Linked DNA regions of Homo sapiens: regions 2, 3, 4 and 5 are each linked to region 1. The links are contacts of gene promoters, found by promoter capture Hi-C in blood cells and fetal thymus (Javierre and others, 2016). All regions are on one chromosome and are shown on one strand. The core of a region is centred on a gene start or on the middle of the fragment in contact, and the rest is flanking DNA. Distances in the headings are between cores, read along the strand shown. Region 1 holds the start of FHL3 (four and a half LIM domains 3). Region 2 holds the start of MEAF6 (MYST/Esa1 associated factor 6). Region 3 overlaps LOC105378657 (a long non-coding RNA gene). Region 4 holds the start of GNL2 (G protein nucleolar 2). Region 5 has its middle 31 kb from the start of LINC01685.

The links. Contacts are between HindIII fragments. The CHiCAGO score rates a contact against its expected background, and 5 or more counts as called.
Region 2: the fragment with the promoter of MEAF6 here is called in contact with the fragment with the promoter of FHL3 in region 1 in 7 of 17 cell types (fetal thymus, activated CD4 T cells, total CD8 T cells and 4 more); the score reaches 8.7 in fetal thymus.
Region 3: a fragment that was not itself captured here is called in contact with the fragment with the promoter of FHL3 in region 1 in 1 of 17 cell types (total B cells); the score reaches 5.9 in total B cells.
Region 4: a fragment that was not itself captured here is called in contact with the fragment with the promoter of FHL3 in region 1 in 1 of 17 cell types (fetal thymus); the score reaches 8.2 in fetal thymus.
Region 5: a fragment that was not itself captured here is called in contact with the fragment with the promoter of FHL3 in region 1 in 1 of 17 cell types (total B cells); the score reaches 5.7 in total B cells.

What each region holds. Positions count from the first base shown.
Region 1 is chr1:38,002,866-38,007,505 of GRCh38, reverse strand. FHL3 (four and a half LIM domains 3) reads left to right here and starts at 1,992. Exons shown (of 6, transcript NM_004468.5): 1 at 1,992-2,149. RefSeq lists silencers at 1,872-1,931, 1,962-2,321 and an enhancer at 3,174-3,982. The HindIII fragment of the contact is 9,980 bases long and covers 1-3,970 here.
Region 2 is chr1:37,511,412-37,516,177 of GRCh38, reverse strand. It overlaps MEAF6 (MYST/Esa1 associated factor 6), which reads left to right and starts at 1,412. Exons shown (of 7, transcript NM_001270875.3): 1 at 1,412-1,521; 2 at 2,640-2,755. The coding sequence starts at 1,432. RefSeq lists a silencer at 1,228-1,827. The HindIII fragment of the contact is 2,267 bases long and covers 277-2,543 here.
Region 3 is chr1:38,485,618-38,490,135 of GRCh38, reverse strand. All of the region lies in intron 2 of LOC105378657 (a long non-coding RNA gene), which reads left to right. Among named protein-coding and RNA genes, the nearest start is that of LINC01685, 13 kb to the right of the region's middle. RefSeq lists enhancers at 5-299, 1-520, 4,371-4,518. The HindIII fragment of the contact is 755 bases long and covers 2,846-3,600 here.
Region 4 is chr1:37,595,535-37,600,138 of GRCh38, reverse strand. It overlaps GNL2 (G protein nucleolar 2), which reads left to right and starts at 4,202. Exons shown (of 16, transcript NM_013285.3): 1 at 4,202-4,380. The coding sequence starts at 4,317. RefSeq lists an enhancer at 4,284-4,473. The HindIII fragment of the contact is 1,567 bases long and covers 2,371-3,937 here.
Region 5 is chr1:38,504,488-38,508,632 of GRCh38, reverse strand. No RefSeq gene overlaps it. Among named protein-coding and RNA genes, the nearest start is that of LINC01685, 31 kb to the right of the region's middle. The HindIII fragment of the contact is 2,754 bases long and covers 747-3,500 here.

The DNA.
Region 1 (4,640 bases), core at 743-3,242:
ATTAGAGCCATGCATCAAGAACAGAGATTCCAATACTCTGCCTTTTATCAGGCCCCTTCTGTACTCACTCATAACCCCTTGCTTTCTGAAGGCTCCCCACCTTTGCCCTCCCGTCCCCCAGAGCTGACCTCCTCTTGGTACCCACTCCACCAAGGCTGAGTAGTCTTCACTGCACTCCCCTGGGCTGGGAGTCTCTTACACCTGCAAGATACATCCCAGAGAGGCTGGGCATGGTCACTCATGCCTGTGGTCCCAGCACTTTGGGAGGCTGGGGCAGGCAGATCAGATCTTGAGGTCAGGAGTTTGAGACCAGCCTGGCCAAGATGGTGAAACCCCGTCTCTACTAAAAATACAAAAAAAAAATTTAGCCGGGCGTGGTGGTGCACACCTGCAGTCCCAGCTACTTGGGAGGCTGAGGCAGAAGAATCGCTTGAACCTGGGAGGTGGAGGTTGTAGTGAGCGGAGAGTGCGCCACTGCACTCCGGCCTGGGCAACAGAGCAAGCCTCCATCTCAAAAAAAAAAAAAAAAAAAAAAAAAAAAAAAATCCCAGAAAAAGGCCCCATCCATGGGCTGGATGCTCACTGCCTGGACTCCAGATAGCAGGTGCCTGTGATCCAAACCGAGGATGTTAGAGGGGCATACATACTGAAGCAGTGTCTGGTATCCATTCATTCATCAGATGTTTATTATGTGCCGGATATTGGAGTAAGTACTGAGAAGGCAGTGGGGAACAAAACGGAGCCCTGCCTTCATGGCTCTTACCATTTAGGCAACAACAGCAATAATAAGCAAGCAATGATTTAATTTTGAAAGGAAACCAGACCTGGTGGGTGACTTGGGACCCAGGAACCCAGGCATGATGCAGAGATGGGACGGAAAGGTTCTCAGGAGCCCCAGCCTGGGAGGGTGTTAGTTCCTCCGTGAGAGCTCTGCTACACCCAGCCTGGGGTGTGGGGAGGCCTCTGTGGGCACCTGAATCTTCACTCTAGATGCTAAGGTTATTCCGGGGTTGATTTGTTGTCTCTTGTTTCCACAAACAGCACAGTAGAGCCTCCTGCCTCCCTCCCTCCCCCACCTCTTCCAGACTGAGGCTATTTATTCCTAGTGACAAGCCTGAGGATCCCAGGGGGGGTGGCCTTAAGGACCTGGAGGGGCCTCGTGTCCCTAGCAGGCGCCAGTCCTCCCTCACGGACACAGGGAGGAAGCCAGAGGCTCAGACACCGCAGAGGTCCCCTCCCCTCTCCTCCACCACCCCTGAGGTGCCCCATCCTCTCACACTCCTCACACCCCACCCTAGAAGCCCAAAGATCATGGGGCCGAGGATTAGGGTCTCCCCCGGGCCTCAAAGGTCAAAACTATTCCTGGGCACTGCGGAAACCCAGGCAAGGCAGGACTTCTCAGTGTCAGGAGGCTGCTGGAAGTGGGGAGGTGGTTACCCCTGTTTTTGCTACTCAAAGTTGTGGAATAAAACCCTTTGGAGGTCAAGGCCCTATGGTGGGGAGGGGTCCTCTCTTCGTCCCATGTTTTCAGAGAACACCTTGGTGCCCGCTGACAGGCTCATGACAGCAGAGTCAAAACGTCCTCCTCCAGGCTGGATTAAGGCCGGGCTGAGTGTCACCCCTGGGGTAAGGTGAAGGGGTGGGGGGATCCGAGGAGGCCAGAGGACTCCCCCAGTGGACCATGGTCTGCGGGGTCTCGTGTCGCCGGCCTGAGATGGAATACAGCAGTCTCCCTCTGGCAGCTGGGGATGGGGGGTGGGAGGGGAGGAGAACAGAGGCTGCGGGGAGGGGACAGGGGCGGGGTCCCGGCCGCTTGAAGGTTGGGAGAGCCAGGTTAGGCCGGGCGGGAGGAGGGGGCCGGGCCGACTGGCGGCCGAAAGGGAGGTGGGGGCGGGGTCTGGCCCCCGCGGCGGGCTGGGGGGCCGGGGGCGGGGTCCGGGCGGGGCGGGCCCGCGCTCACTTCCTCGGGGAGGGGTTGGGGCCGCGCTCCCACTCGCCCACACGGTCCGTCTGCAGTCGGCAGCCTCGCCGGCAGCTCGCTCGGCCCCCGCTTGGCCCGGCCCGCAGGTAGGAGCCGCCGAGGGACGCGGCGCCCGGTTCCCGGCCCCGCCTGCGCCGCGCGCTCCCCGCTCCCGCCGCCCGCTTCGAGGTGAGCGCCCCGCCGACCCCGGCTCCCAGCCCTGGCGGTCCGCCCCCGCGCCCAGGCCGGGGAGCGAAGGGACCCGCGGAGGGCTGAGGCCAGCCGCGGCCCCGGTCCCCTGTACCCGCCGGGCTCTGGCCACGGGTGCCCGGGGCACGCCGAGCCCGGGACAGCGCCCGCCGGGACTGGACCCCTCCGGGCTATCGGGCGGGGCGGGGGCGGGGGCGGCAGCGAGAGTTGGGCGGGGGAGGGGGCTAAGTTTGAAATAGAAAAGCCGGAGAGAGACAGACAGACCGACCGACCAGAAGCGCTGGAGAAACTGAGGTTCTCGGAAAGCCCGGTGGAGCGAGAGACCGAGACAGGCAGGGACTCGAGGCACAGGAGGCTACCGAGACCACTGAAACAAGGACACACCGGGCGTACAGAGTTACTGGTGGACAGACCCGAGGCATGGGGGCCGTCCTAGGCTTTGTGGAGCATTTTCAGAAAAAGCATACGTGGGACCCCAGCGAACACATTCCCTAGGGCCCTTCCCCGGGCCTTGGAGGTGCCCTGAGGCTTGGGCGTCATTGGCCTCATGCTGAATCTGCTCTCTGAGGCCTGCAGAGACGCTCAGAGACTAGAGACAGAGACATTCAGGCGTGCAGAGGTGGCGAAAGAGACTTGGATGCAGAGACAGAGAAAGGGAGGTGGTGGGGATTGAGACATTCAGCCATGTAGACAAGAAGAGACCAAGACTTGAGATCCACAGAGGCATGGGCCCCCTGGGGGACAGCCAGTCAAGATACAGAGCCGTCCAAAACCTAAAGACAGAGACTGAAGTGTGCCCAGACACAGAGATGCTGAGTGAAGCAGAGACAGACACCAGAAACTGAGACTAAGTGGGGGCAGAGAGACCTAGGTGGTCTGACAGCTTCCAGGACAGCCCCTGACTTACCCGGGCCTGAACCATTGGGAGGTGAGGCTGTGGGGAAACAGAAACTCTGAGCCTACCGATCCCCCATGAGGCAGAGGCCCTGAGACAGTAAGTTCGAGATCAAGAAGAGCCCCACGCACACACACAGCCACCAAGACAGCCCCAACTTATTTTTGAACTCAAATCTTGGATGGGCTGCCTCAGCCCTGGGGGACCCAGGGTGAATGAACTGTTCCTCTCATGTCCCCAGAGCAGCTGCGGGATCTTGCTCCCCAACCCCCTTCCCTAAACTTCTCTGACTTCCAGGCCACATGGGGGAGAGCAGAGCTTGGGGTTGGTGCCCGGTAGCAGAGGGTGAGGGTTGAGGGAGTTGGATTTCTCCCCTTAAGTCTCCTGTCAGCTTCTAGAAGGTGGGGGAGGGGTCTGTTCTGATCCTGACTCACAGCTGTGGGACCTGGCCAGGGTCCTCCTGGACAGTGGGCATGTTGGGGGTGGGGGCAGAAGGATTGAATGGTTGGCATGGGGCATTGGAAAGGCTTCTGGGTGTCTTCCAATCACAGGGCTAGCAGCTGAGGAGAAGAGCCAGGCTCTGGTGCATCTCCTGTTCCCCTGCCCTTAAAAACTGACCACCCCCATGTCACCATCCGCTTCATCACCAGGGCAGCATTTTTAGGGAGAGGGAAGAGCTCTGGGCTGGGAGGCAGGGGACCTGGGTCCTGATCGGGACCTTGGGCATGAACCTGCTCTATTCCTGGCCTCCTTGTGCTCAGCTGTAAAATGGGGATGATACTCTGTCCTGCCTGCCTTTTGTGAGATCTGATGAGATTGTGGTGGGCATGGACTTTGTGAGTGGCAAAGCAGCATGCAGGTGTCTACATCCGTGGACCTGCATGAGAGATCTCAAGAGTTAAGCTTACTAGAGTCAGGCTGACCGGACTGAAGCGACCACTTTCCCCACTGGTGTCCTCAGCAAGCCCCATGGGCCTGGGGCCCCCTATTCTCTCCCTGGGCCTATGCTGAGAATGTCCAGGTCAAATTTCAGACCAGGCTGGGCACAGTGGCTCACGCCTGTAACCCCAGCACTTTGGAAGGCTGAGGCCAGAGGATCACTTGAAGCCAGGAGTTCAAGACCACCCTGGGCAACATAGTGAGAACCCCATCTCTACAAAAAATAGAAAAACCTAGCTGGGCATGGTGGCACATGGCTGTAGTCCCATCTACTCAGGAGGCTGAGGCAGGTGGTTTGCTTGAGCCCAGAGTTGTTTTTTTTGTTGTTGTTTTGTTTTGTTTTGAGACAGAGTTTTGCTGTTGTAGCCCAGGCTGGAGTGTAATGACATGATCTTGGCTCACTGCAACCTTCACCTCCTCGGTTCAAGCAATTCTCCTGCCTCAGCCTCCTGAGTAGCTGGGCTTACAGGCGCCCGCCACCATGCCTAGTTAATTTTTGTATTTTTAGTGGAGATGGGTTTTCACCATGTTGGCCAGGCTGGTCTTGAACTCCTGACCTCAGGTGATCCACCGGCCTTAACCTCCCAAAGTGCTGGGATTACAGGTGTGAGCCACCTCACCTGGCTGAGCACAGAA
Region 2 (4,766 bases), core at 163-2,662, 490 kb after region 1:
ATGTTATCACTTTTATTTAACAGACTACTGGAAATCTGCACAATAAGGAAGAAAAAGAAAAAGCACTCAGCTTAGAAAAAAAAAAACTCCCTATTTATTTGCAGATGAAATTATTATCTATGTAAAAATTCCAAGGAATCTATACAACCCCCCCTAAAATTAGTAAGGGAGTTCAGCAAGATGGCAGGTTACAAGATCCGCACACGAAACCAGTTATTCAGAATGCAGCACAGAGGGACAAAAAGATGGAAAATATAGACGGTAGGTTAAAAAGCTTCTTATGTTCGAGTTCCAGAAGGAGAGAGAAATGAGACAGGCATCTGAAGAAAAATGACTGCGATTTCCCAAAACTGGTGGAAGATACCAACCCACATATTATAGAAATCCAAAGACTTCCAAGCAAGAAACAAAACAAAAGGAAGAAAAAATATCCCACTTAGACTTATGATAGCGAAACTGCAGAACAGTGAAAGATGGAGAGCTGAGGACGGAGAAATCCACAGGGGCCAAGTGAAAACAACGTTTACACCTTGGACTTAACGATAAAAGCGAACTCGTACTTGCACAGTCATTGGCGCCTGCCAAACCCCTTACACATATTAGGTGATTTACTCCTCACAGCAAATGTATTAGGTAGATTCTATTACTGCTTGTATTTTACAGATGAGGGAGTTGAGATTTGGTTATTTGCCCAAAGGAGCACACTTTATCGATGTAGCGATAGGATTTTGAACAAGGTAGTTCTCGCTCCAGTTTTGTGCCCTTAACCACTACACATACTTGTTTCTCCAAAGGGCACTGGGAAAATGGGAAGCCACTGAAAGACTTTAAACCGGGGAGTGATAACATTTGTTTCTGGAAGATCCTGGCACCACTGTGGATAGTGGATTAAGTGGGGCTAAAGGTGGAAATAAGCCGCTGGAATAATGTAGCCCCAAACAGGGAGGGCCTGAATGAACTAGTGAGGTGGCAGAAGGCGCAGGCACAAGCAAATGGATTCGCGAGCTCTTCCGGAGTCGAGTCCATAGAGCTTGACCTGGGATCGCGTTTTACTCCAGGTGCAGAGTGAGGAAAACCGCGTTTCTGACGCAGGCAATTCGGTGGATAGTGAAAGTCATTCACTGAAGTGGACTGAAGCGGGGCGCACAGGAGACTCGGAGGCCTGAGGACGAGCTAGGCTTTGGACGCGGTGGATTTGTGGCGTCTGTAAAGCCGGCGGCCAGCCGAGGGGCAGGAAACGGCAGAAAGCAGAAGCCGCATCTCTAGAGCTCTCCGAGAAGGACCTTCGAGAGCCCCGGCCTTAGCGAAGCTCGGCACGGCGCTGCACGCGTCTCCGGAAGCCGCGCGCGCAGGCGCAGAGCGGGGGGGCGCCCCCTGGCGGCGCAGGGACCGCCCCCAACCTCGCGCCGCCGCCGCCCGCCTCAGCCCAACATGGCGATGCACAACAAGGCGGCGCCGCCGCAGATCCCGGACACCCGGCGGGAGCTGGCGGAGCTCGTGAAGCGGAAGCAGGAGCTGGCGGTGAGGGGCTAGGACAGGGGTTGCACGGCATGGGGCTCCGCGCCCGCCCCGCCTCCAGGCCCCAAGCCCGGCCGCGCTAGGCCGTTTGTTACTCCGGGGGCGCGGCGCGGCGGGCCGGGTGCTCGGCGGCCTGAGGCCGGGTGCGCATTCTGCGGCCCGCCGGCGGTTCAGCTTCCCGGCTGTGCGAATCCGGAGCCGGGAGAGAGCCGGGAGCGCGGGAGGGGGAGGGGAAGCGGCAGCCGCAGGAGGGGGCGTGGAGGGAGGACGGTGCCGGGGCCCGGGGAGAGGGCGCTAGGAAGGGCGAGCGTCAGTGAGCCGCGGGGGTGGGCGAGGCGGGCTAGTCCGTGATCTTTGCGGGGAGGGGGTGGGGAAGGAGGCTAGTGTGGGAGGGGGACCCAGTCACCCCGTCTGGACTTTGGAGGCTGGTGGGGAGCGTGTTCTTTTTGGTACTGGGAGTAGATCCGTTGAATGGAGGTTTTTGATAGACAGGGTTGTGATGTGTTTGGGAACATCTAGAAGGTGACAGGCGAGGGAGAAGAACACATTCCGGAGAATTCAGAATTGTGACAGGCACCCAAGGCCCAATGCACTCTGGTGGCTAAGCTCTTCCTGCCCCCGCGTCTCGGCTTGGGCACCCGGGAGGCCCCTCTCACCTGAAGCTGCCCTTCTAGGTTTCCATAGCAACTGGCAGCCCGGTGTCGGCGGCCTCTCTTGAGCCTGCGGGGAGGGGAGCGAGTTGACGCTGAAAGGCTGCTCACCTTTCCCTCTCCTGGTAGCGATACCTTTTGTGCGTGGGAGTGGACATCGCCCAAGTTCTGCGTTAGCCTGGGCTCTTGACTCATGGTTTCCGTGAATCCTCTAAAGTATATGCAAAATTTCGCGTGTGTGTGTATTTTTCTGGAGACATGCTTTATACATTCAGGGGTCCATCACCCCCAAAGGTCTAGACTGTCTTAGTCCTAAACGGCTCCTCCTCCCCGTATCTTCCATCTCTCCACAGGGTGGTTTAGTGTGGGCAAGCTTGCGTTTACGAGTCTAATATCAGGATTTCATTTTGGCCAGACTTAAGTGTTTGCATTTAAAAGGTATCATTCATGTCCTTGTTTTTCATCTCTCAGGAAACATTGGCAAATTTGGAGCGACAGATCTATGCTTTTGAGGGAAGCTACCTGGAAGACACTCAGATGTATGGCAATATTATTCGTGGCTGGGATCGGTATCTGACCAACCAAAAGTGAGTGTCGAAAGCCTGTAGTGTTCCTATTGTGCCCTAGTAACGTTTGTTTTTAGGACTGTATGCTCTTAGTGGCAACTTTGCTGGAGGCAGTAGTAAAGTAGTGGTGTGATCTGGACTTGAACTCTTGGACTCTGGCTCAGGCACTGCCTCACCGAATAATCTTAGACAAGGCTCACATCTGTAAAATAGCGAAAGTTGGGCCTATGGCACAGGGTTGTGTGAGGCTTAAATACAGTATCTTTATACAATAGCATTCTATTAAATTTTTTACACATTTTAATCAGTCATGAGTTCTACCCTCACAGTATTTTTCTTTTCTTTTTTTCTTTTTCCTCCTGAGTAGCTGGGATTACAGGTGCGTGCCACCATGCCTGGCTAATTTTTTTATTTTTAGTAGAGACGAGGTTTCTCCATGTTGGCCTGGCTGGTCTCGAACTCCTGACCTCAGGTGATCTGCTGCCTTGGCCTCCCAAAGTGTTGGGATTACAGGTGTGAGCCACCACGCCTGGCCACTTTTCTTTTTTCTAAGAGACAGGGTCTCACGCTGTTGTCCAGGCTGGAGTGCAGTAGCACGAACTTAGCTCACTGCAGCCTCAGACTCCTGGGCTGAAGTGATCCTCCCACCTCAGCCTCCCAATTAGCTGGGACTACAGGCACACCATACTGTACCTGACTAATTAAAAACTTTTTTTTGTAGAAGTGGGATCTCACTTTGTTGCTCAGGCAGGCCTGGAACTCCTGGTTTCAAGCAGTCCTCCTGCCTCAGCTTCTCAAAGTGTTGGAATTAAAGGGGTGAGCCACCACGCCCAACTGACCCTCACAATTTTTGCCATACCTGTGTGCCAGCTGTACCACTGCTTACTTAGTAATATTATTTTTAAAAAATTTCTAAACTTTTAGAAAATCTTCAAATTATAGGAAAATGGGAAGAATAGTATATGAACACTTGATACCCTCCTACCTATATTCACAAATTGTTAATGTGTTGTGACATTTGCTTTCTCTTACTTTCTATAATATATATTAATATAAGCACACATCTATATTTACATTTCACATTTTTAAATTGTGAAATAATTATAGATTCATAGGGAGTTGGCAGAATGGTCTCTTGTACCCTTCATCTGGTTTTCCCCAATGGTTGTGTTTTATGTAGCTATAATACAGTATCAAAGCCAGAAAATTGACATTGGTACAATGTATATATATAGTTCTGTGTCACTTTATCTTGTGTGTAGATTCATGTAACCACAATGAAGTTACTGAACTATTCCATTACCACAAAGATCTTCCTCATGCCACTCCTTTGTAGTTATATCTCCCAGTCCCCCTACCTTTTTTTCCCACTTAACGGTTTGAAAGTTAGATGCAGGTAAATGACACTTTGCACCTAAATGTGTCAGTAATTACCTCCTGAGTATAGGGCCATTTCTTCTACCTAACCAGTTATTATACCTAGAAAATCAATACTGCATTAATAGTATCTAATACATAGTCTTTATTAAAATTTCCTCAATTGTCCCCAAAAATTCTTTGCTAATTTGTTTTGATCCAGGATTCAGTAAGCATTCATGCATGCATTTGGCTATTATGTCTTAAGATTGAGGAGAGTCACCCTTTTGGTGGTGGTTGTGGTGGTATTCATGACATTGCCTTGTAGAATGTTGCAGTTTCCTGAGATTTTCTGAGGGCAAAACTCATGACTGATTAAAAGGGTCCTGAAAGATCCTTTAAACATTTTTGCAAAAATCTTACATAGGCAATTGGTGTATCCTTTGTTATCTATCTCTAGTTTATCAGGAGGCACATAATGTCACATTGTCCTATTATTTGTTGCTGCTAAGTTTGATCATATGATTTATCTGCTATAAAAGTTCATTTTTTCCCATTGTGATTAACAAGTAATTTTGGATGTTATGCTTTGAGACATTATGAATATACTGCTCCCTCTAAATTTGTATTCAGTTGTTTAGTATACACCGTTGATTCTTATCTGAATCCGTTAGTA
Region 3 (4,518 bases), core at 1,974-4,473, 480 kb before region 1:
CTCCCTTTCCGGTCCCCCACCCCCCAGCTTGGGAGAGGTAGCAGGTTTGTAGCTTAAACTCCTCCCCCTTCTTTTTGGAAGCTGTCTCAGCAGAGAACCTGTGCCTGGGTAGCCCTGGCAGTGAAGGCAAGGGCAGCAGCTTTCTAGCGCCCCTTGTGGCTGGATGGTGGTCTGCCCAATCCTGGTGGTCAACATCAGGAGGCCCATTGTCTGCGCATGCTCTCCAGAGCCAATCTTATTGGTAACAAAGCAAGCATTTCCGCTTCCATCTGCCTGACTCCGCATCTCTTTCAAAGCGTCTGAAACTTAGGCAGGAAGAAGAGGGGTGGCTTTGTTCCTTAACTCCAAGCACAACGGCCCATGCATCAGACGACAGTAAATGTTTGCGGAATTGAAGATTGAACCAGTGAATCGTTGAATCATGGGGATCAGTCAAAGAATAAAATGGCACAGAGACATGAATTCACAAAGTGGAGGTTAATATTCAGTTAAATTATATGAAATTGCTAGTTGTGCAGATCAAAAACAGTCAAATATTGGCAAGTTCACGTAGTTTAACCTAATAGTCCTCTAGTCTCAAGGGGGGCAGTGAGGTCCTTTCTGAGCACCCTGGGGCTTCATTCTAGAATAACCAGCTTCCAGCTGGCAACTGACTGGAGACGTTCAGGTTCCTGTCTGGAGTGCTTCCACCTGAGTTCAGGATCCCTGCATGGAGAGTGTCATTGTGTTTCCTTCCATCTGAACCAGTCTTAACCTGCTGTCCATGCCACTTCACCCGAAACCAAGATAGCCTTTACCCTGGCCCCAAACTCTCTTTGCTTGTGACTTGGGGAGCAGCTGTGACCCAGCAAGAATACCCTTGAAGCCTCCCATGGAATAGCCTGGTAATTCCCAGATCAAGTGACCAGTTCATTTCACCACCCCTACCCCAGCACCTAGTATTCATCCTGTTAAGGTGATGTGTAGGTTATGAAGCACTTTGGCATCAATCATCATAACAATCCCATGGGAGAGGTATTATTATCTCCATTACACCGATGAGCACCAGAGGTCACACCTGCTGATGGCTCTGGAGCACTGTGCTATGTGACTTAAACAAAATATTTCATTTAATTCTCATAGTCTGTTATGGGCAAAATTATGTTCCCCTGCCCCTGGAAATTCATATGTTAAAACTCTAACCCCCAGCACCCCGGAATGTGGCTGTATTTGGAGATGGGAGCCCTTAAGGAGGTGACTGAGTTAAGATGAGGCCTTTAGGGTGGGTCCTAATCCAATCCAACTGGTGTGTTTATAAGAGGAAATTTGCAGACACACAGGCACCGAGGATGTGCATGCATAGGAAAGCCCCCATGAGGACATGGTGAGAACATGGTCATCTGTGAGCCAAGGAGAGGGTCCCTGGAAGGAACCAACCCTGCTGACACCTTGGTTTTGGTCTTCCAGCCTCCAGAACTATGAGACAATTCCTGTTGTCGAAGATGCCCAGGTTGTGGTATTTGTTATGGCAACCCTGGCACACTAATACACACCCTTCATGACAGAGTACTACTATTATCCCCATTCTGCAAATGAGGAAACAGAGGCTCAGAGTGGTTAGGGATCTTCTCCAAGGTGGCACAGCTAGGAAGTGATGGAGCTGGAATTCTAACCTAAGATCATGTCTCTGGAGCCCACTGGCTACAACTTTTCCCTTGTTTATGTGAAGGGAATTGCTCAAGGTCACACGAATAGAATAGTGAAGCCGAAACCTGAGGCCACATGATGACATCATCACTTGCTCCCCAACAGTATTTTATCAATCAGTGTTGCCATAAAACACAAATTCATTTCTAGCTAACAGTTCCCTAATTCTTAGGCTTGAGAGGATAATAAAGATCTGTGCGCAATAAATAGAAAACATTACATAGTCTTAGTATTCAAGTAGCAGAATGAAACGCCATATGGAATTCCATAGGTGACTTTTTGTGCTGTAAAGTTACCAATAAATGTAAAGATAGCTTAAGATTATGATTATGATAAGGGCGAGTCAGGGGAAAGGCGCCTGAACTCGAAGCCCGGATTTTGGTTTCAGCTTTACCACTTAATGCCTTGGGCAAGTCATTTGACTTCTTTGCACTTGACCTTGAGCAAGTTATTTGACTTCTCTGCACTTCACTTTCCTCCCCCGCAAAGCAGGGTCAATAATTCCTGTGTGGGATCCCTCCTAGTGCCTCTTGAGTAGCAAACAGGGTAAGAAATAGAAATAATCTGTGTGAACTGTCAAATACTGAACGAACCTATGCATTATCTTTGAGAACACTAACAAGAGCCACAGATTTACATTATGTTCTGTTGAGGGCCTTCCCCAGGCTGTGCGGAAGGAGCCTCTAGAAAGGATCTGGCAAAATGGGAACCATGTGAACGGTGCCAGAGCACCAAACTCCACATGGGGTGCTTGGAAACCTCCTGCAACCTCTCAGCACGCAAACTGTTGCAGTTCCCAAACCAATAAAGATCTCACTGCCTCGGAAGGAGAGCGAGGTGTGATTTCACATTCTCCACACGGCTGCTGACTGCACACACCACGCAGCCCGCGATGGAGTAGGCGCGCGCATGTGTCTGTGTGTGTGTGAGTGTGTGTTTGTACTTGGAGAGGGTGTCTGTGAAATCTAAAGGGCCAATATCGCACTCGCTGCAGCACTCAACAGCCAGCACCGTCTGGGGAGCTCCATCCTGTATTGACGCAACTGTAAGTTGTAACAGATAGCATTCTGGAATTCATGTGTGAATTTGTTTAGGGTGGATTTATGGGGGAGTTTGCTGGCTTTCCCAAGCTTTCAGGAAAAGTAGCCAACTGTAAGCTTACTAGAATCGCCATTCACTTTAGTTCTGCTAGGGGACTCTCTTCTGTCCAGGAGGTAGGAGAACCATGGTTACCAGGGGCAGGGAGGTGAGGAGATGGGGAGAGATTGGTCAAAAGGTACAAAGTTGTAGTTATGTAGGATGAATGTCTAAAGAGCTGATGCACAGCATGATGACTGTACTTAATAATACTGTGCTGGATACTGGAAATTCAATGACAGTAGATTTCAGGTGCTCTCACCACCCACACGCGTGCAAGTGTGCACGCACACGCAGTAACTATGTGAGGAGATGGATATGTTAATTTGCTTAACTGCAGTAATCATTCCACTATGTGTATGTATATCAAACATCTCATTGTACACCTTAACTGTATACATTTTTTATTAAAAAATAACAGAACAGTAACATGTGAGGTTGTGGCTGTTATTATCATTAGTTGTAGTAATAGCAGAATTGTGAGTGGGATTTTGGCAACTTTACTCTGTAAAGGTTTTACAGCTAAGGTTGATTTAAGAATCCAAGATTTAGCAACAAGATGACCTCTCCTTCCTCCCTTCCTTCCTTCCTTCCTTCCTTCTTTCCTTCCTTCTTTCCTCCCTCCCTCCCTCCCTTCCTTCTTCCCTTCCTCCTGCCTGCCTGCCTGCCTTCTTCCCTTCTTTCTATATCTCCACCCATTCTCCCTCTTTTCTTCTGAAAAAAAACACATTGATTTTACCTTTCTTCTGGGGGTATCCCCTAAACTGGGAACAAGCTTTGAAACTTCAGCGAATTCATTTATACCTAGGTATGTTCAAAAACTGGAAGAGAGGGCCAAAAGAGACCTGTGAACCAAGATGTTTGGTGGGAAGGGACAGTGACAAACGTTCCTGGGCTACAAGCCCTCAGATGTCAGAGCAAAGCCCTGCTCCACCCGCTGGCATTGTGCAGGGGCGGCAGGCGGTTCTCCCAGTTCTATAACTGCTTTTGTGACCCCTTTGTACCCCAGGCTGGACCCTGGGAAACACTAGTTACACATCTCCAGGCAGAGGCTGCTGAGGTGGGCTTTAGAGATGTTAATTTGCGTAATGATTTAGAGTTGATTGACAGGAAGCAGGACAATAAGCCTGGAAATGTGAATGAACCAGGCTGGAGCTGAGGCTAGAGGGCCCCAGGAGATGGAGGAATGGAAGATTTCTGTCTAGATTTAGATTCCCAGGAAGCAGACGATTTGGTTAGAATTCAGATCTCTGCAGCCAGAACTCAGCAAATAGAAACTAAGTAATTTTGACTTTTTTAAAACCAGGGGGTCAGTGGATGAGCTTTAGGGGATCCTTGAAATGAAATACAACATTTTATTTGTGGGTGAATTTCCCTGGAGACAGGAGACATAGCTTTCATTAGATTGTCAAAGGCATTTGTGACTCAAAAAAGTTTAAAAGCCACTGGGCCCTATGTCTCCAGGGAGCAGACGATCTCAGGAAGAAACAGGTCTCAACTGTCAAATCCAGATCGGTGTTAAGACCCCCAGTGCTCCACTAAATTTGCTCCCACCCCACCCTCACCTCCTAATTGCTAAGTTCACTGTCACCCTTTTAATGCTCATATGGCATTTGACACTCTTGACTACTCCTGCCTAGAAACTCTGTCTTCTCTGTTTCCGTGACACTCATCTTCTGGATTTCTTTTTGCCTC
Region 4 (4,604 bases), core at 1,905-4,404, 410 kb after region 1:
TTGCCAAAGGATAACGACCCTCCGGCTGCAGCATAAATATCAAGGCATTTGGGGCAGAGCCAAGATATATATTTTCAGAGTGCATTAGACACTGCAGCAGCCTTCCTCACCCTGGCTCTGCTAAGAAGAACAAGATGATTTAAGATAGGTAGGAAAGAAGCTTGATCTTCCAGGGCTGCCTTCTGGTCAGCAGGTCAGAAAGCCTCCGAGTGACTCTTGGAAAAGACTTCACTTTTGTATATACAAGAATCACTTGAGGAGCTTGCTAAAATGTAGATTCTCTTGGCCCCACCCCCAAGATGGTCTGATTTTGGAAGCTCTGGGATAAAACCCAGAAATCTGCATTTTTGTTTTATTTTATTTTATTTTTGAGACAGGATCTCACTCTGTCACCCAGGCTGGAGTGCAGTGGCACGATCTCACTGCAGGCTCCACTTCCCAGGCTCAAGAGATTCTCCAGCTTCAGCCTCCCAAGTACCTGGGACTACAGGTTTGAGCCACCACGCCTGGCTAATTTTTGTATGTTTTGTAGAAACAAAGTTTTACCATGTCACCCAGGCTGATCTCGAACTCCTGCGCTCAAGCGATCCACCTGCCTCTGCTTCCCAAAGTGCTGGGATTCCAGGCATGAGCCACCATGCCCAGCATTTTAAAACAGATCCCCCAAGTGATTCTGATGCTTGTGGTTCTCAGACCACACTTTAAAAAATGTTGCTTTAGAAGCTGCTGCTATTTGCCCATTAGACCCCAGTGATAAACTTTTTACAGAATGAAGATAAAAGTGAGGTCAGGGCCCGGCACACTGGCTCATGCCTATAATCCCAGCACTTTGGGAGACTGAGGCAAGTGGATCACCTGAGGTCATGAGTTCAAGACCAGCCTGGCCAACATGGCGAAACCCCATCTCTACTGAAAATACAACAATTAGCTGGGTGTCCTGGTGGGTGCCTGCAATCCCAGCTACTCGGGAGGCTGAGGCAGGAGAATTGCTTGAACTGATGAGGCAGAGGTTGCAGTGAGCTGAGATCGTGCCATTGCACTCCAGCCTGGGTGACAGAGCAAGACTCTATCTGAAAAAAAAAAAAAAAAAAAAAAAAGTAAGGTCAGGATTGTCTGCTTCCTGTGAAGACACCAGTCCAGAACATGGCATTTCCAGCCAGTCTCCATCCATTAAGGTCTTCTCATTCACACAAACCTGTGGTTACCAGGAGCAACATTTGAGGGGATGAGTAGCTCACCTTGGATTTTGAGAAAAATAGAAAGCATCCCTGGCCGGTGCAGTGGCTCATGCCTGTAATCCCAGCACTTTGGGAGACCGAGGCGGGAAGATCTCGAGGTCAGGAAATTGAGACCAGCCTGGCCAACATGGCGAAACCCCGTCTCTACTAAAAACACAAAAATTAGCTGGGCATGGTGGTGCGTGCCTGTAATCCCAGCTACTTGGGAGGCTGAGGCATGAGAATAGCTTGAATCTAGGAGGCAGAGTTTGCAGTGAGCTGAGATCATGCCACTGCACTCCAGCCTGGTGAAAGGGCAAGACTCCATCTCAAAAAAAAAAAAAAAAAAAAGAAGAAAAATAGAAAGCATCCCATCTGCATGATGTGTACCATGTCTGCGATGCTTTCATATACTGTAACTCATATGATCTTATTGCAGTCTTTCAGAGTAGTTAAGCTATTGCATCTGTTTTAAAGCTGAGGAACTGTAGACCTGGAGGTGTATCTTGCCTCTGCTAGTTGGCATGACATCAGAAAAGAGAGTGAAAAATAGTCACTGCATTACAATGCGGCAAGCAGGGCAGGCAAATCAAACCAGTAACTTAAGCTTGACTTACCTTGATCAGGCTTTTTATCTGCTGGTAGAATTGAAGTTGGTTGTCGAGATCGGCAAATATTGTTGTAAAAGGATTGATGGGTCAGATTATAAAAATAGATGGAAAGTTTGTAAGATAAATGCAAGCAGAGTATGAGAACAGGAGAGAAACAACCCACCATATCATCTGGGAAAATGAAACTCCTTGGCAAGACTTCACAACAGCCTGATTCAAAATTTCATAATGAAATTATGTCTCTGATCAAAGCCTGAATGAGCTCATAGGCTGATTTTTGCCATCCGTGTTTATTCTGGTTTGCACCAACTTGAGGCATCAGAAACACATTAACTGAATCTTCTCTCTGGGAGGAGGCTATGGTATCCTTGTTTTGGGGATCAGAGGGACAGTGTGGGGTGGAAGGGGGCATCTTCACTGATCATGAAGTTTTTTCCAAATAGCTCTCAGAGCTTCCCTAACACAGGTCACAGTCAGGGCCTTCCCAGCAGAGCTGCATTTAATCTCATGATACTTGCCCTTGGGGCAATAAAAGCGAAGCTTGAGGGACAGAAGGTATTTCCAGCTCTAGCCTATGACATGGCCTGCTTTTGCTCTAAAGAGAATGTTTTGGGGTTTGTTTCAAACTCAGAGAAATAAAGACTCAATCATCCCCTGCTCAATTAGAATACCTCACTTTATAACAAATTGTTTGTTTTTATGAAATGAGCTACACTGCATGAATCCACCCTTCCTCTTGCCTAACCATCTCTTCTTTGGCCTATCCAGAGGGTACAAAGATGGCCATTTTCTGACAATTTGAGGTACCAAAAAAGAGAGAGGGACCAGGCGAGGTGGCTCACACTTGTAATCCCAGCACTTTGGGAGGCTGAGGCAGGTGGATCACCTGAGGTCAGGAGTTTGAGACCAGCCTGGCCAATGTGGTGAAAGCCCGTCTCTACTAAAAATACAAAAATTAGCTGGGCATGATACCATGCGCCTGTAATCTCAGCTACTTGGGAGGCTGAGGCAGGAGAATTGCTTGAACCCGGGAGGTGGAGGTTGCAGTGAACCGAGACCGGGCCACTGCACTCCAGCCTGGGCAACAAGAGCGAGACTCCGTCTCAAAAAACAAAAACAAAAACAAACAAACAAAAAATAAATTGTAAAAAGAGAGAGGGCTTCTTGGTTCAAACACTGGCATCTAGACACTTTATTCTGGCTAGTAGAAACAGAAATCACTGGGTCTTAATGCCTTCCTTCATCCTCAAGGCAAGAGACATTCCCATCTACTCATTCTTTCACTTAATGAATATTTTTTGAGTCCTTTGTTTCAGATGCTATTCAAGTCTTAAAGACACAGCAGTGAACAAATTAACAAGGTCCCTGCTTTTAAGAATCTTACATTCTAGTTTGGGGGAAGCAGCCAATAAACTTGTAAAAAAAATTCAACTAGTGATAAATGCCATGAAATAAATAAAACAGAATACTGTAACAGAATAACTGTGAAAGGGTGAAAGGTGGCTGATTTAGACAAATTAGACAGGAATGAGTTCTCACAGCAGGAAGGGTCACCAGATAAAATACAGAACGTACAGTTACATTTGAATTTCAGGCAAACGATGAATACTTTTTTAGTCTAAGTATTTTCCAGGCACTGTTGGAGGTGTACTAAAGAAAAGTATTCATTTTTTTTCTCTGAAATTCTAATTTAATTTGGTGTCCTGTATTTCTATTTGCTAATTCTTGCAGGCCTACCAATAGGTGATATTTGAGCTTAGGATTGAATGACAGCTATGCAAAGATTCTGGGAAAGAGTGATTCAGGCAGAGAGAATATCCAGTGTAAATGTCAGAATAACCAGAGGGAGGGACGTACACATGAGATTAGATAAATAGGCAGGCAGGGGCCAGATCACAGAATCCTGTAGGGATGGCAAAAAGTTTGAATCAATCTCTGTCTCTGTCTGTTTCTCCCTTCTCCCTTCCCCTACCTCTCATTCTAAGAGTGATGATAAGCCACTGGAGTTGTAAGGAAGAGAATGACACCTCCTAACGGATATTTGGCTGCTGTGTGGTCGGCAACTTTTGGAAGGACTTAGAAGACAAATTCAGAAGACAAACTTAAGCTTGTGCCACTGGCCTGGGAAGAAGCTTCTTTATTCGGAGGTGGACCCAACTGGGAGCTCTGGCCGCGCGTTCAGGTTAACTAGGCGGTTGCTATGAACGGGCAGCTTGGCGGTTGCTAGGGCTGGAGCGGGCTGGGGCTCCACGCAGGGCGACGCCTAGGCGGCTGGAGCGGGGGCGGAGCCAGGAGGGTGACGGCGCGCGCCGCGCGTTCACAGGAAGTCGCTCTGAGGCCGAGAGGGACGCGAGCGGAAGTGACGTACGTCGTGCACACGTGGTCCGGCGTGGTTCAGGCGGGTGTCTTCGGCCGGGCTTGGGAACATAAAAGTTTGTTTCACCACGTAAGCCGGACCTCGCACTCCGGTCCCGGTCTCGTCGCCAAGATGGTGAAGCCCAAGTACAAAGGACGGAGCACCATCAACCCGTCCAAGGCCAGCACAAACCCAGGTACAGGCGGCAGGGCTGATCGAGGGTGGAGCTTGGAGGAAGTATAGGGAAGGGCTCCGAGGAGCACTGGAGGGGAAGGAGGGTTACTCGAGTGGCATTGCTTAGAATGACTACGAGCGGGGTGGCTGTTGGGGATGAAAAGGGAAAAAGGAAAGCAATATTTGTGGTGGTTTCTTCTCAGGGGGGAACTGAGGAGGGCTCAGTGCACGCCTGGCAGGCCAAAG
Region 5 (4,145 bases), core at 874-3,373, 500 kb before region 1:
TCAGATTCTTTACTTCTTCCCTTCCCCCACCCCAATTTCCCTTGTCTCCAGCAAGCGATAATATCTTTCATCTGAGACTCCCTCCCTGCCTCCAGTGACTCCCTCCCCTGATGAATTCTCTCTGGGTGACTCTAGCATTTGCATATTCCTCGCTTGGATATTCTGAGATGTTGGAACCAGAGAGCAGGTTGACGCGATCAGGTACTTAGCTGAATGAGGCTTTCTTGGGAACTGCACAAATATTTGGAGTCGGGTGTGTGCCAATAGGCAATTAATTGAAATGTGGACACAGCAAGCTTCTGGAGGAAGGAAACTGAAGTTGAGAAATTAACTGTGGGAAGTGATCTTCCGCAAGATACAAAACAGTAATTAGGGAATTTCCTTTAGTGCAAACTGAAATTGATTTGGTATGGTAAAAGGACAAAACAAAAAACAGTGAATGAGTGTAGGATTAAGGTTAACTCCTATGATACTAGGGCTGGAAGGGGTTCTTGGAGAACACTGGTCTGACCCTCTTGGAAAGGGAAGAGAACCCAAGGTAAATGGCAAGTCACGGCAAATTCAGGACCAGAAGCAAGATGTCCTGACTCCAGCCCAGGGCACCTTCTACTTTTTACGCTGACTGTCTACCTGGAGACCTGGATTATCATATTAGGAGCTAAAGGGCAAGGACTGCGATTTAAGCATTTTCCTGTCACCAATGACTTTGTGAATACATTTAGTAAAACCTGTAACAAAATCAAGCTTCTCACTGAGTGTACTCTTAACTCGAGTGGAAGCGCATCTGGCCAACCTCCTACTTGGTGTCTGGCTGCCTGCTGAGCACTGGCGATGGAGCTGGTTAAAAATAGAGGCCCTGCTTCATGCTGTGTGATGTTGGCCTGATGCCAGGTGAGGGCCCCACTCCCTGTTTATCCTCTTTGGAAGGCATGCAGCCTCTAGGCCCATCTATGTTTCCCCATCTCCCAGGAGAATGGACCCATCTCCTTAATTGTTATTATTATTATTATTTTGAGACAGAGTTTCAGTCTTGTTGCCCAGGCTGGAGTGCAATGGTGCGATCTCGGCTCACTGCAACCTACACCTCCTGGGTTCAAGCAATTCTCCTGCCTCAGCCTCCCAAGTAGCTGGGATTACAGGCGTGTGCCACCACACCCGACTAATTTTTGTATTTTTAGTAGAGACAGGGTTTCGCCATGTTGGCCAGGCTGGTCTTGAACTCCTGACCTCAGGTGATCCGCCCACCTCGGCCGACCAAAGTGCTGGGATTACAGCCGTGAGCCATGGCTTTTTATAAATGATGAATAAGGAAAGAAGATCTCTGTGCCATTGCTTTAAGATTCAGATTGTCTTAAGATGATATGAAATCCCTTTTTATTGCTCAGATATGTAGGGCCAGAGTGATCATTTTTTAGGCTTCCCCTAGAACATGGCTTTCAAAGTGTCGTCCCTGAACCAGATGTATCAGCACCTCCTGGGAACTTGCTAGAAATGCAAATTCTCAGGTTCCACTTTAGCCCTCCTGAATCAAACTCTGGGAAACAGGGCCCAGCAATCTGTGTTTTAACCAGCCCTCCAGGGGAATCTGACGTACAGTGAAGTTTGAAAACCATTGCCCCAGAAAATTATGATGTGGAAGTCTGGGCTGCTGGATTCCAGCACCAGGAAAGTAATTTATTTTTGATTATTGGACCCTTAAGAATAAACTCTCTTCATTTCAGAATGCCCAGGTGAGCTGTTTCCATACATTGCTGAGTGTTAAACAGGAAAAAATTTCTAAGTAATTCTTCAAAATTTAACTGACCAGCACAGCGAGACACAATTCTGGTAACCTGACATATTTCCAGCAAGTGCAATATTTTCATATTTTAAAATTCCATGGAATGACTGAATAAGTTAATTGATTACCTAATCTGTTATTTTTAGAATCCCACTTCCTTACCTCGTGTGAAAGTTTATTCAAAATTCAAATGGGAACATTTTATTACCCCAAAGTGTTTTCCTATATACTTTAACATGTTACTAAGGAAACCAGTTGTAACATCGCAGTGATATTGTTGCTCTAGCAAATTAACAATTCACCAACATATATGCCATGCTATAATGATTTTTTCCCTCTCTCTCTGGAAAATTTCACGCTTATTGAATTTACACATTTATAACACAGGACATTGGAAGCAATGGGAATAAAGAGGTAAGGAGAAATTGTATCCCAGAGTGACAGAGGATATTTCCCAGGATGTGTTTTGTGCTGTTTGAGCATAGGCAGAGCGAGGTGATTTTTCATTCAGCATCAGGAGCTCCTCTGCGTAGGGAAGCTGAGTTAGAGAGAGCAGCTATCTCGCAAGGGCAATTTGGTGGTGGGGCTTGGGGGCTTCTAACTGGTGAGTGCTAGAGACGACTAAAACTGGGTGTGTGGTACAAAGTGTGTGCTAATCACACGTTTAGAGAATCAAACCACATCAAAGCGGTAGATCACGTGAGCCCCTGCGATGGCACCAGGAGATGGGGACACAGCCCAGTGGGAGGCCTCCTGCTTTTTCTTTCTGGAAGAGGGGGAGGAGACGTTATTAATGATGGGATGAATTAGAACAGATGGGTACTTTTGACACATTTTCCCTTGTTGTTATTTTCCAATTTCCCATCTTCCCACCACCTAGTCATGTGGCTTTCTCTTGGTTAGGAGTAAAGGCATGTGACTTTTTAAAGGGAAGCCTCAGGAAGGGAGGGTAGAAATGGAGACATTGGCTTAGAGCTCAGAGGGCATGCTTGACAGATGCAGAAAGTCCTCCTGAAGCCTTTGCTGGGTGCAGCAAGGAGGAGACCGCCATGCCCACTTGGCCTTTCTGATGCTGTGCTCAAAGATGAGCCATGTGACCCTTTCTCACTCGCTCCATCCTGTCCCCACTCCATCTGGGCAGCCATCACACCCTCCCTGATTACAGGTACCTTTCTGCAGCCTTGAGGAGATTTGCATTGTAAATGGTGTTTGTTAGGCCCCTGAAATAATATTAATCATGGTAAAACAATTACGTTGCATAATTTGTACATAAAAAAGAATGAACCTTTTGCTGAATTAATGTTTCCTCTACTACGTATCTTTCTTGTCCCCACAAATAATGAGACCCTGTCTGCCCTTCTGGGTGAGAAAGGCTTTGAAAAAATAAAACTATCTGCCTTCTTATGGCTTCCTGAAACATTGCACAGATGTCCAGGGCCGGGTAGCTTATGTAATTTCAGGTGGAATAGACAAGCACCCTGGTAAAATGGACATCTTGGCAACCCATAACAGAAATCTTAGGGAGCTGGGACCCAACCTCCACATGCACTATAGGGGATTGAATGGTCTCCCGACTCCCAAATGTATCCACATCCTATTCATCCTCCAGGTCCCAGCTTAGAAGTCAACCATTCCAAGAAACTTTTCTGGACCATCTGAGCTTGGTTGGGTGCCCCTCTTGGGGCTCTCATAGCATTTCTTTATTTCCCTTGGCAAAGCTTATCTGTTTGTATTAGAATTATGGTATCTCTATCTCCCACCCTGCTGCAGGTTGAGGGCAGGAACTGTGTCTGCTTAGTTCACCATTGTATCCCTGGCAACAAGCCCAAGGCCTGTATACAATAGGTGTTCAATAAAATATTTGTGAAATGAATGAGTTGAGAATGTCAGAGATGCCTTCCCGGATCATTAGGCTCAGAATTTATCATTGATTAGGATATTGAGGAATGTTATATTAAAGGGCATAACTATCTGACCAGTTGTCAATCTCAAAGGTTAAGGATGTTCTCAGAATATTCTAGATCATTTTATAAGTTACTACCCACAACATCATCTAAATCATTTGGAAACATTTTAGCATGAAGGAGATGGCATTATTTGATGTCTTCAGTTCCTTTCTCCTTTGTGACTGTATTTTTAGCATGACCACTTAGAGAAATGAATTGCAAAAGTCTAACACTGCATAAGGTAACAAATTCTATGTTGTTTCTAAATGAACTTCTGCAAATGTCAAAGGAAACCCCTAACTTGAATACCTAAATGGGCTGAATGTGGAAGCCCCCAAAGTGACAGTAGGTTTGGAGCTTGCCACTTCTAAACTTTCTCACCACGCTGAGTACAGGTCATTTCAATCTGTCCCTGCTCT